3 separate regions of the Homo sapiens genome follow, and regions 1 and 2 are each linked to region 3. Evidence: promoter capture Hi-C in human tissues and cell types (Jung and others, 2019). All regions are on one chromosome and are shown on one strand. Each heading gives the region's core, a stretch centred on a gene start or on the middle of the fragment in contact. The rest is flanking DNA. Distances are from core to core; before and after follow the strand shown.

Region 1 (2,813 bases), core at 177-2,676, 68 kb before region 3:
TATGTCGATTCTTATAAAAGACTATAGGCCACTGCTATGGTTTGAATATGTTCCCCCCAAATTTATGTGTTGTAAACTTAATCCTCATTGTAACAGTATTAAGAGGTAGAAACACCAGGAGGTAATTAGAATTAGATAAGGCCATCAGGAAGAAGCATCCATGATGGGGCTGGTGGCTTTATAAGAAGAGGAAGAGAGACCTGAGCTGGCACACTCTTACTTCCTCACCATATGATGGCCTGTGCCACCTTGGGACTCTGCAGAGAGTTGCCATCAGCATGAAGGCCCTCACCAGATGCAACCCCTGAACCCTGGCCTTCCCAGCCTCCAGAACTGTAAGAAATAAATATCTCTTCTTTATAGTTTACCCAGTCTGTGGAATTCTGTTATAGCAAGAAAAAATGGACTAAGAAAACTACCCATGTGAACATGACTTTTTTTGTTCCCGACAACACCTATTCAGAAAATATAAGGTTGCACACCAATAAGTACTTTTACTCTGTGCTTCAGGAAATGCCAAGACCAATTAATTGGAGACAATACATTGAATTCCAAAATTCACAGACCAATTTATTGGAGACAATACGTTGCTTATCTGGGCAAACCCTTGCTTTTTAGCCACAGTTTACCTATTCAAGACCCTTGCTTTGCCGTGACTGCCAACTTAAACTACTATGTAAAACATATATTTACATATAAACATTTTTATGTATCATTAAATATGTAATTGTATGTATAATATATAAACAATTTTTATATATTGTACATGTAATTTGTATTGATACATTATAGAAATATATATATATTTCTCTATATATAAAACAGGTCTTTCAAGGGAGAGAATATATACATTCCTTGAACGGCCTGTTTTAAAACACTTGAACTCAGACCTCAGTGCCCTATAAGTATTCTATTTCTGATTCCCCTTGTGAGGTGCTGCCAAGACTGTCAAGGATGTATTCTTTCTTGGCAGAAAGTTCTAATAAATTTAGCTTTGATTTATTAAATATTGATAGTTTAGGGAGTTCAACAGAGCAAATAAATATTTCCTAATTTATTGTATATTTTTGGTAATTATGTGTATTTAAGGACTGCCTGTATTTATCATTTGCTTTTTGCAGAGAATCCTCCTTTTAAATGCGAAGAAATACTTAGCCCCATCTTACAGAATATCATTACTTGCTGAATGTGTTTAACTTCTTTTTTTAAAATTTATTTTTACTTTTTTTACTTTACAAATAAAAATTGTATACATTTATGATGTGCAACATGATATTTTGATATATACATTGTGAAATAATTAAATCAAACTAATTAATATATTCATCACCTCACATTTATCATTTTTTGTGGTGGGAATACTTATGTTCTCTCTTAGCAATTTCCAAGTACACAATACATTGTTATTACTACAGTTCACCCTTGAACAACACAGGTTCGAACTGTGTGGGTCCACTTACATGCAGATTTTCTTCTGCCTGTGTCACCCCTGAGACAGCAAGACCAACCCCTCCTCTTCCTCCTCCTTCTCAGCCTTCTCAACATGAAAATGAGGAAGATACAGACCTTTATGATGATCCCCTTCCATTTCTTCCTTATAATATTCTTAATAACATTTTCTTTTCTCTAGCTTACTTTATTTAAGAATATAGTATATCACACATGTAACATACAAAATATGTGTTAATCAACCTTTTGTCATGGGCAAGGCTTCTGGTCAACAGTGAGATATTAGTAGTTACGTTTTTGAAGAGTCAAAATTTATACATGGATGTTTGACTGCATGTGGGGTTGGTGCCCCAACCCGCAAGTTGTTCAACAGTCAACCATATAATTGCCATGTTGTATGATAGTCTTCTGAACTTATTCCTCCTGTCTAACTTAAATTTCGTGTCCTTAAGCCAACATCTCCCCCAAACCCTCAACCTCAGCCTCAGTAGCCACTATTCTACTCTTTGTTTCTATGAGCTCAGCTTTTTAGATTCTACATATAAGTGAGATCATGCGGAACTTGCCTTTCTGTGCTTGGCCTATTTCACTTATCATAATGTCTTCCAGGGTCACTTATGTTGTCCCAAACGACAGAATTTGCTTCTTTTTTGAGGTTGAATAGTATTCCATTGTGTATATATACCACATTATTCATCTGCTGATGGACACTTAGGTTGATTCCATATCTTGGCTATTGTGAATAATGCTTCAGTGAACATGGGAGTGAAGATCTCTCTTTGACATACTGATTTCATTTACTTTGGATATACACCCAGAAGTGGAATTGCTGGATCGTGTGGCAGTTCTATTTTTACATTTTTGAGGAAGCTCCATGCTATTTTCCATAATGGCTGTACCAATTGAATATTTCCACCATCGGCGTGCAAGGGCTCCTGTTACTCCATGTCCTCTCCAACACTTGCTATCTCTTACCTTTTTGATAATAGTCTTGGGATGTCCTTAATTTTGCATGGACATGAATGGATGTGATTACAGCTGGCTGTAGGCAAAGTCATGAAGTTAGTTAAATTAAATTTCTATAAAGTAACTTTGCTTTGTCTCCTAGTTCTTTCTGAAGCGTCGGCAACCTGCTAGAGGTAACCAGTGCTCTCCTGCTTTCTAAGGATCTGCACTACAGTTCAGTCAAATTGTGTCCCAAGTTCGCATTTATCAACTTCCACCTTCCTCTTTACAGCTCGTACCCTTCCCACCATTATCCCATTAACGGTCATCATCACTCCCGGGCAAATTCTTGATTTTGTAACAGTTATCTTAGGAATCAGAGCAGGAATTCTGGTCTCTTTCTCAGAGCTCATGCCCAG
Region 2 (2,907 bases), core at 170-2,669, 72 kb after region 3:
TCTTGGATTTTTTAGGTGACCCAATATAATTACAAGGGTTCCTATAAGAAGGGGTCATAAACCAAGGAATGTAAGTTGCCTCTAGAAGCTGGAAAAGGCAGGGATATTGATTCTCCCTAAAGCATCCAGAATGAACACAGCCCTGCCAACACTTTAATTTTAGACTTCTGGTCAGAAGTCTAAAATTACACCTCCAGAGGTGTAAGATGACCATTTTGTGTTGCTTTAAGCTACTGAATTTGTGGTAACTTGTTACGGTAACAATAGGAAACTAATACACATACCTATACAAATTAACAAGTCCCAGTCCCTTTGGACTATTAGACATACTTTATAAAATCGTCCATTAAAGGACATAGACAATACACACAAAAAATAAAAGACATGGAGAAATGACCACCTTCAATAATTAAATGAAAGTTAAGATAATTATGAGATATAATGGTATGTCTGTTAAAATGACAAAATATTATCAATAAGCAGCACTGGTAAGGCCGTAATGCCATAGAACTTATTATATTAATGTGTTCATATGCTAATATTACTCCAAACAGTAATAGAGCTCTTGAGAGCTTATTATGTACCATACATTGTTTTAAGTCCCTTGACATGTATTATGACAACTGGTTTCTAAAGTAACTCTCTGGAGTAGGTGCTATGATTATTCCCATTTTACAAATGGAAAAAGAAAAAACAAACAAGGAAAGAAAGCTTATGTAATCTGTACAAGACAATAACAAGATAGTACTATTTGCGAGAATGGAGCCAAGAATTCTTCCCAAGTAGTTTGATACCCAAGGCCTTGCTTAGTGTAGGAGTTATATACTCCTAGAAATGTTAGGTCATTCACTTAATAATTCAAATTCAACAGAAGGAAAGAGCTTTATGCTTCGTAAATCTGTTAATTGCAGCACTAATTACAAATACAAAAAACTAAGTTGAAACTAAGTATGTATCACATTACGGGGGTGGTCTAATTATAGTATATAAACAAGATGGTAATTTTTTCAAAAAATGAAAATGATTGTAAAGAGTACGAGAAACATGGGAAATTGGTTATGATAAAATCATTAAAGCATAAAAAATAATCTCACAGTTATGATTGCAACTTTAAACATTTTTTATAATCTATTAATAAAAAAAATTCTACTTTGGCAAAACCATGGGTTACTATAATTTTAATTTCTTTAACATTAAATTATTTTCAAGAAGAGTATAATAAAATAATTACCGTTGAAAAAATTCTGACAATTTTATTCTCAATATATCATAGGATTGACTCTTTCAATTTAACATTATGTGTGAGGAGAAAGCCTATTTTGGATCCATTACTGATTTCTTTGTATTTCCTTTTATCTTACCGCAGAGAAGATGATGAATATTTTTATAGCTGTATCAGTTAAGACAGTCTTGGTCATAAATAACGAAATAATTGAATCAAACTCACTTTAAAAAGGAAACTCTTTAGTTAATGTGGTGAACATTCCAGAAATAGTGCTTCAGCCACTCAGCAGTGTCATCAAGACTGACTTTCTCCCTTCCTGGAACTGCCCCCTCTCCCGAGGATGGCTCCCCTCGCAGTCCTAGGATGGCTGCCAGCACCTGCCAGGGCTGCCTTTGCCCGGGGACTTACCACGTTTTTATCTATTCATAAAAGAGAAGCCCTGGGTTTCCCTGTGATTGGGCCATTTTAGATCCCTGCCGTCCCTAAACCAAGTGCATGGCAAAGATGATGAGACTTCACTGATTTAGACCAATGAGTTCCTCACTCCCACTCCCCTCCTCATGGAGCTATGGCTGAGATCATTTTCATTCCTACTCTGTGGGAGAAGAATGAATGGGATGGATGCTGGTGTTGTAGCTATAATGTCCATTATGGAGCATTTGTGAATTTCCCTTTTTTTGTGTTTACCTTTTTACAGACGAATCCCAGGCAAGGCGCTGACTCTCTGTGAGGGTCCCAAATCCCCATGTAGGACCCCCATTCCCTGTGCAGGCCCCAACTACCCTAGCAATGCCTGGATCCAGGCAGTTCTCCCATCCCTCGCTGCTGCTCTGTGAAGAGGCCTAGAAGAGCAGAGGGTGTCTGTCTTTCAACTCCCTCAATCAACACCTTCTTAGCAGGTTTTGGTTGTTGTTTTGAAAGAGGCAACCCTTGTTGTTTTGATTCTGGCCCTAGTCAGAAGGACACTTTAAATAGACTGGTTCTATTTTTAAATATTCCGAATAACTAAGTTGTTGAAATCAATCCACAGATGCAGAAACTGCCAGTCGATATTTGAACAAGGTTACCCACAAGAGCTGGTAGTTTTCTAGTGTTTCCCAACAAAATGGTCAATTTCTCATATACTGGTGGGTCGTGATGCCATTTCTCACATCTGAGCAAGAGGAAAAACAACACCCTCATAAAGCCCATGGGCTCAGGAAGGGTTTAGATGAGAGCTATTTGCCTACCTAGAGTCAAACCTCTCATTCCTTCCTTCCAAGAATGCTGCTCCATCCTGCTCAAATATTTATTGAGCACGGACTGTGTGCTAGGCACTGTCCTCCAGAGACTTAGAAATATATTCCTATATCTTTTCCAAATACACTTTCCTAATGAAGCCAAGAGTAGTGTTCATTGAGCTCAGCACAAGTCCTTCAGGCAGCAGCCCAGGCTCTGAGGTCAGTCTCAGCATTCTCTCCTGAAGCCTGTTACTGCGCTTCCACACCAGGCATTATACCCAGTTCCACCACCCTCCCCCTCCTGGGGAGTGAAAGTAATGGCAGCAACAGCAGGTAGGTGACTGCTGAGCCTGGAGGGAAGCTCCACACAAGTGTTGATTTAAGAAAGCCTGCGTGTGACCCGCCTCTCCTTCGGCACTTGCATTGATTGCCAAAGATGAATTACCATCTGCCTTGGCTTTA
Region 3 (2,864 bases), core at 224-2,723:
GGTGGATGAAGACACCCGTCCGTTTGCCTACTGAAGCAAGATGGGGCTGAGGCGCTCAAGGGCCTATTGGCTGCCCAGAAGCCTTTGCAGCGCCGCCTGAATACAGCGAGGATGACCCAGGGTTCACCTTCAGCGTTGAAGGCAAGTCCTGGTATAAGGGACGCACATAGGTCCGCGCCACATCCTGACACTGTTTCCACAGGAAGTGCGGGATAGGAGGGGGGATTCATTAATCCAGGTCGGAAATACACCTTGTTCCTCGAGGATTTTGGAAGGAAATTCCACCCGCGAAGTCCCCTTTTGGAGATGCCCTTTTCCTTTCAGGTACAGCATCCTTCATTATGTACCCCCAGGGTACAATGTATCCGGGGCTCGCAACGCGTCCCTCAACCCCCAGCAGCGCGGTCACCGCGGGGTCCCCGGGCGGGCGGGGGCGGCGGTGACGCAGGAGGCGGTGGGGCCCCGGTGCGGCGGGCGCGGGGAGGGGGCTGCTGGGCGCGGGCCTATCAGGACGCGCGGTGTTTCGGGCGCGGGGAGGGCGGGGACCTCCAGGTTTCCTCGGGGCCCGGCGCAGCGCCGCCTGCCGAGTTCCGAGCGAGCGCGCGAAGCGCGCAGGGGTCTCGAGACGTTCCCGCCGGTCCCGGTTTTCCTCCGCGGCTCCCCCGCCCCTTCACGTCCGCCTCTTTCTCCAACCAGACGCGGCTCCGACGGCGCTCGGCCTCTGCTCTTCCGGCTCCCCGGCTCTGCCCGCAGCGCGCGTCGCCCGGTTGCTCTTCGCCTGGTGTCCGCGGGCCCGGCGGGGGCGCCTCACCCCGGGCGCGCGGCGGTAATGCCGCTGCCGCCCTTGCGGCCAGGCAGGCAGCTGGCGGCGGCCGGAGTCGGAGCGCGTTCGTCGCTGGCCGGGACGCCGCCCTGGCCTGTGCTCAGCTCCCGCGGCGGCCGCGGGGCGCCGGGGCCCGGCGCGGCATGAGGAGGCGGCTCGGTGCAGGCGAGCGCCCAGCTCCTCGGCCCCGAGGGCCCCCGCGGGCCCCCGCGCGTGGCGCGCGCTGGTTGCGGCCCCGGCGCCCACGCTAGCCCCGCGCAGGCAGGAGACGCCGCGGCCCGGAGTAGGAGGCGGCGCAGGGCCTGCCGAGCGGACGCGGGCGGCCCGGACCTTAAGCACGGGGCTTCGCGGCGGGACCCCGCCGGGCGCGGGCAGCGGAGCCGGGCGTGCTGCAGTTAGCTGCCCCTCTCCGCAGGGGCGCCGCGGCGCGCAGCCTGCGCCTCCTCCCACCTGCAGCCCCTCCTCCCGCCGCTGCTTGGCGGAGAAAACGCTCCTCCTCGCCCTTCCCCGGCTTTCTTCCGTCCTGCCGTCCCCGGGCCCCTAGCCCCCAGTCCCCTCTCCCCCCTCCACCTCTTGTCCCTCGGCCTCCGCGCCTCCCCTCCCCCGACTCTCTGGCCTCCCATTCATTCCGTCCGCTCCCTCCCATTTCCTCTTTTCCGCTCGGGCCCTCTCCCCAGAGCCTCCCCGCGCGGACCCCGCTGCAGTCTCGGGGTTCTCAGCACATTTATGGAAGTTTAGGGCCTGGACAGTGGCCCCGAGTCCGGCCTGAGAGCGCAGCCTGGGCTGCTGGCAGGGAAGAGGAAGATGTCTGTGCTCAGGCGGATGATGCGGGTTTCCAATCGCTCTCTCCTCGCCTTCATCTTCTTCTTCTCCCTCTCTTCGTCCTGTCTGTACTTCATCTATGTGGCCCCAGGCATCGGTAAGCACCGAGACACACCCTCGCTTCCCCTGGTCACACCACAGCCAGCGCAGGCTGTTATCCGATGTTACTTCTGGGATTTGGAAGCTGTTCAAACAGGGGCCCGCAGAAAAGCGTTTTGTTTTAAATGTTATTTCAGACGTGTCAAACTGCTTCAGGGCATGGCTTTGGTATGTGAGTTTTGTTAATGCATGCATTTTGTTAATGCATGTTTGTTAATAACGTAAAAGATTGCATTAAATAGACGTAGCAAAATTAGTGTGATGGCCCGGGATGCCCTAGTCGCTTTCTTGAGTGTTCATGACAGCTTTATCCATTTAATGTTAAGTCTTTAAGCCTAAACTGAGTGCTTAATCGTAGTTTTATTCAAACACTCTCGGGTATAATAACTGGTTGTAAAAATATGGAGGAGCCAGCAGCAGGGAATGTGATTGAGTCCAACAATGTGTGTTTTCTAGGGTCCTAGGTCGCTTTTTTAGAATGGGGTCAGTGGACCCCATTCTTTTTGTGCCATACTTGGGGAATTTTAAGGCGATGAGTTGTCTTGTAAAAACAATGCTCCATTATTTTAGTCTGCTTGGGTGTTATTTTCAAGGGTACGTTGCCTTTGCTACCTGTTAGGATGACTTCTGAGAAAATAGTGATTAAAATAACCGTTATCTAAGGGAACTTGTAGTTTAAAATGTTAACCGGTTTATCATTTTTTGGCCTTTGGTGCAAAATACACTTTTGTAAAACTGCTTGAATTAACTTCTTTATTAAATATCCGAATTCCTCGTCCCCCATTTGTTGAAAAGGAGCCAATGCGGCGTTAATTCTAGTGAATGAGAATTATGAACTTCACATGCATATTAAAATATGTCATATTTCCAAAACTTTTCTGAGTTTTTCCTGGCTATTACGTATTTAATGTTCAATTACTTAGTAACAGTGAGCATCTCCTCTCATTTCTCCTTACACACTGTGGTCGTTTGAGCCAGTGCTCTTTGTTCCGAGTTAGCTAAAAATGTAATGCCCCTTACAGAGTGAAAACACCTGCAGAATTTTCAGATGGAATGATCAGGGCATTGTCTTGAGTGTAGTAGATTATTGCAGTGAATTGCAGCAGGGAAGGAAGATGGA

The links. Contacts are between HindIII fragments. The study calls those that stand out against the background at their distance.
Region 1: a fragment that was not itself captured here is called in contact with the fragment with the promoter of B4GALT6 in region 3 in 2 of the 25 tissues and cell types used here (mesendoderm cells and neural progenitor cells).
Region 2: a fragment that was not itself captured here is called in contact with the fragment with the promoter of B4GALT6 in region 3 in 2 of the 25 tissues and cell types used here (lymphoblastoid cells and mesendoderm cells).

Annotation. Positions count from the first base shown.
Region 1 is chr18:31,751,511-31,754,323 of GRCh38, reverse strand. No RefSeq gene overlaps it. Among named protein-coding and RNA genes, the nearest start is that of SLC25A52, 8.0 kb to the left of the region's middle. The HindIII fragment of the contact is 6,906 bases long and covers 1-2,813 here.
Region 2 is chr18:31,610,911-31,613,817 of GRCh38, reverse strand. No RefSeq gene overlaps it. Among named protein-coding and RNA genes, the nearest start is that of TTR, 20 kb to the right of the region's middle. The HindIII fragment of the contact is 5,182 bases long and covers 1-2,907 here.
Region 3 is chr18:31,683,190-31,686,053 of GRCh38, reverse strand. B4GALT6 (beta-1,4-galactosyltransferase 6) reads left to right here and starts at 1,473. Exons shown (of 9, transcript NM_004775.5): 1 at 1,473-1,742. The coding sequence starts at 1,628. RefSeq lists a silencer at 337-1,376. The HindIII fragment of the contact is 7,513 bases long and covers 1-2,864 here.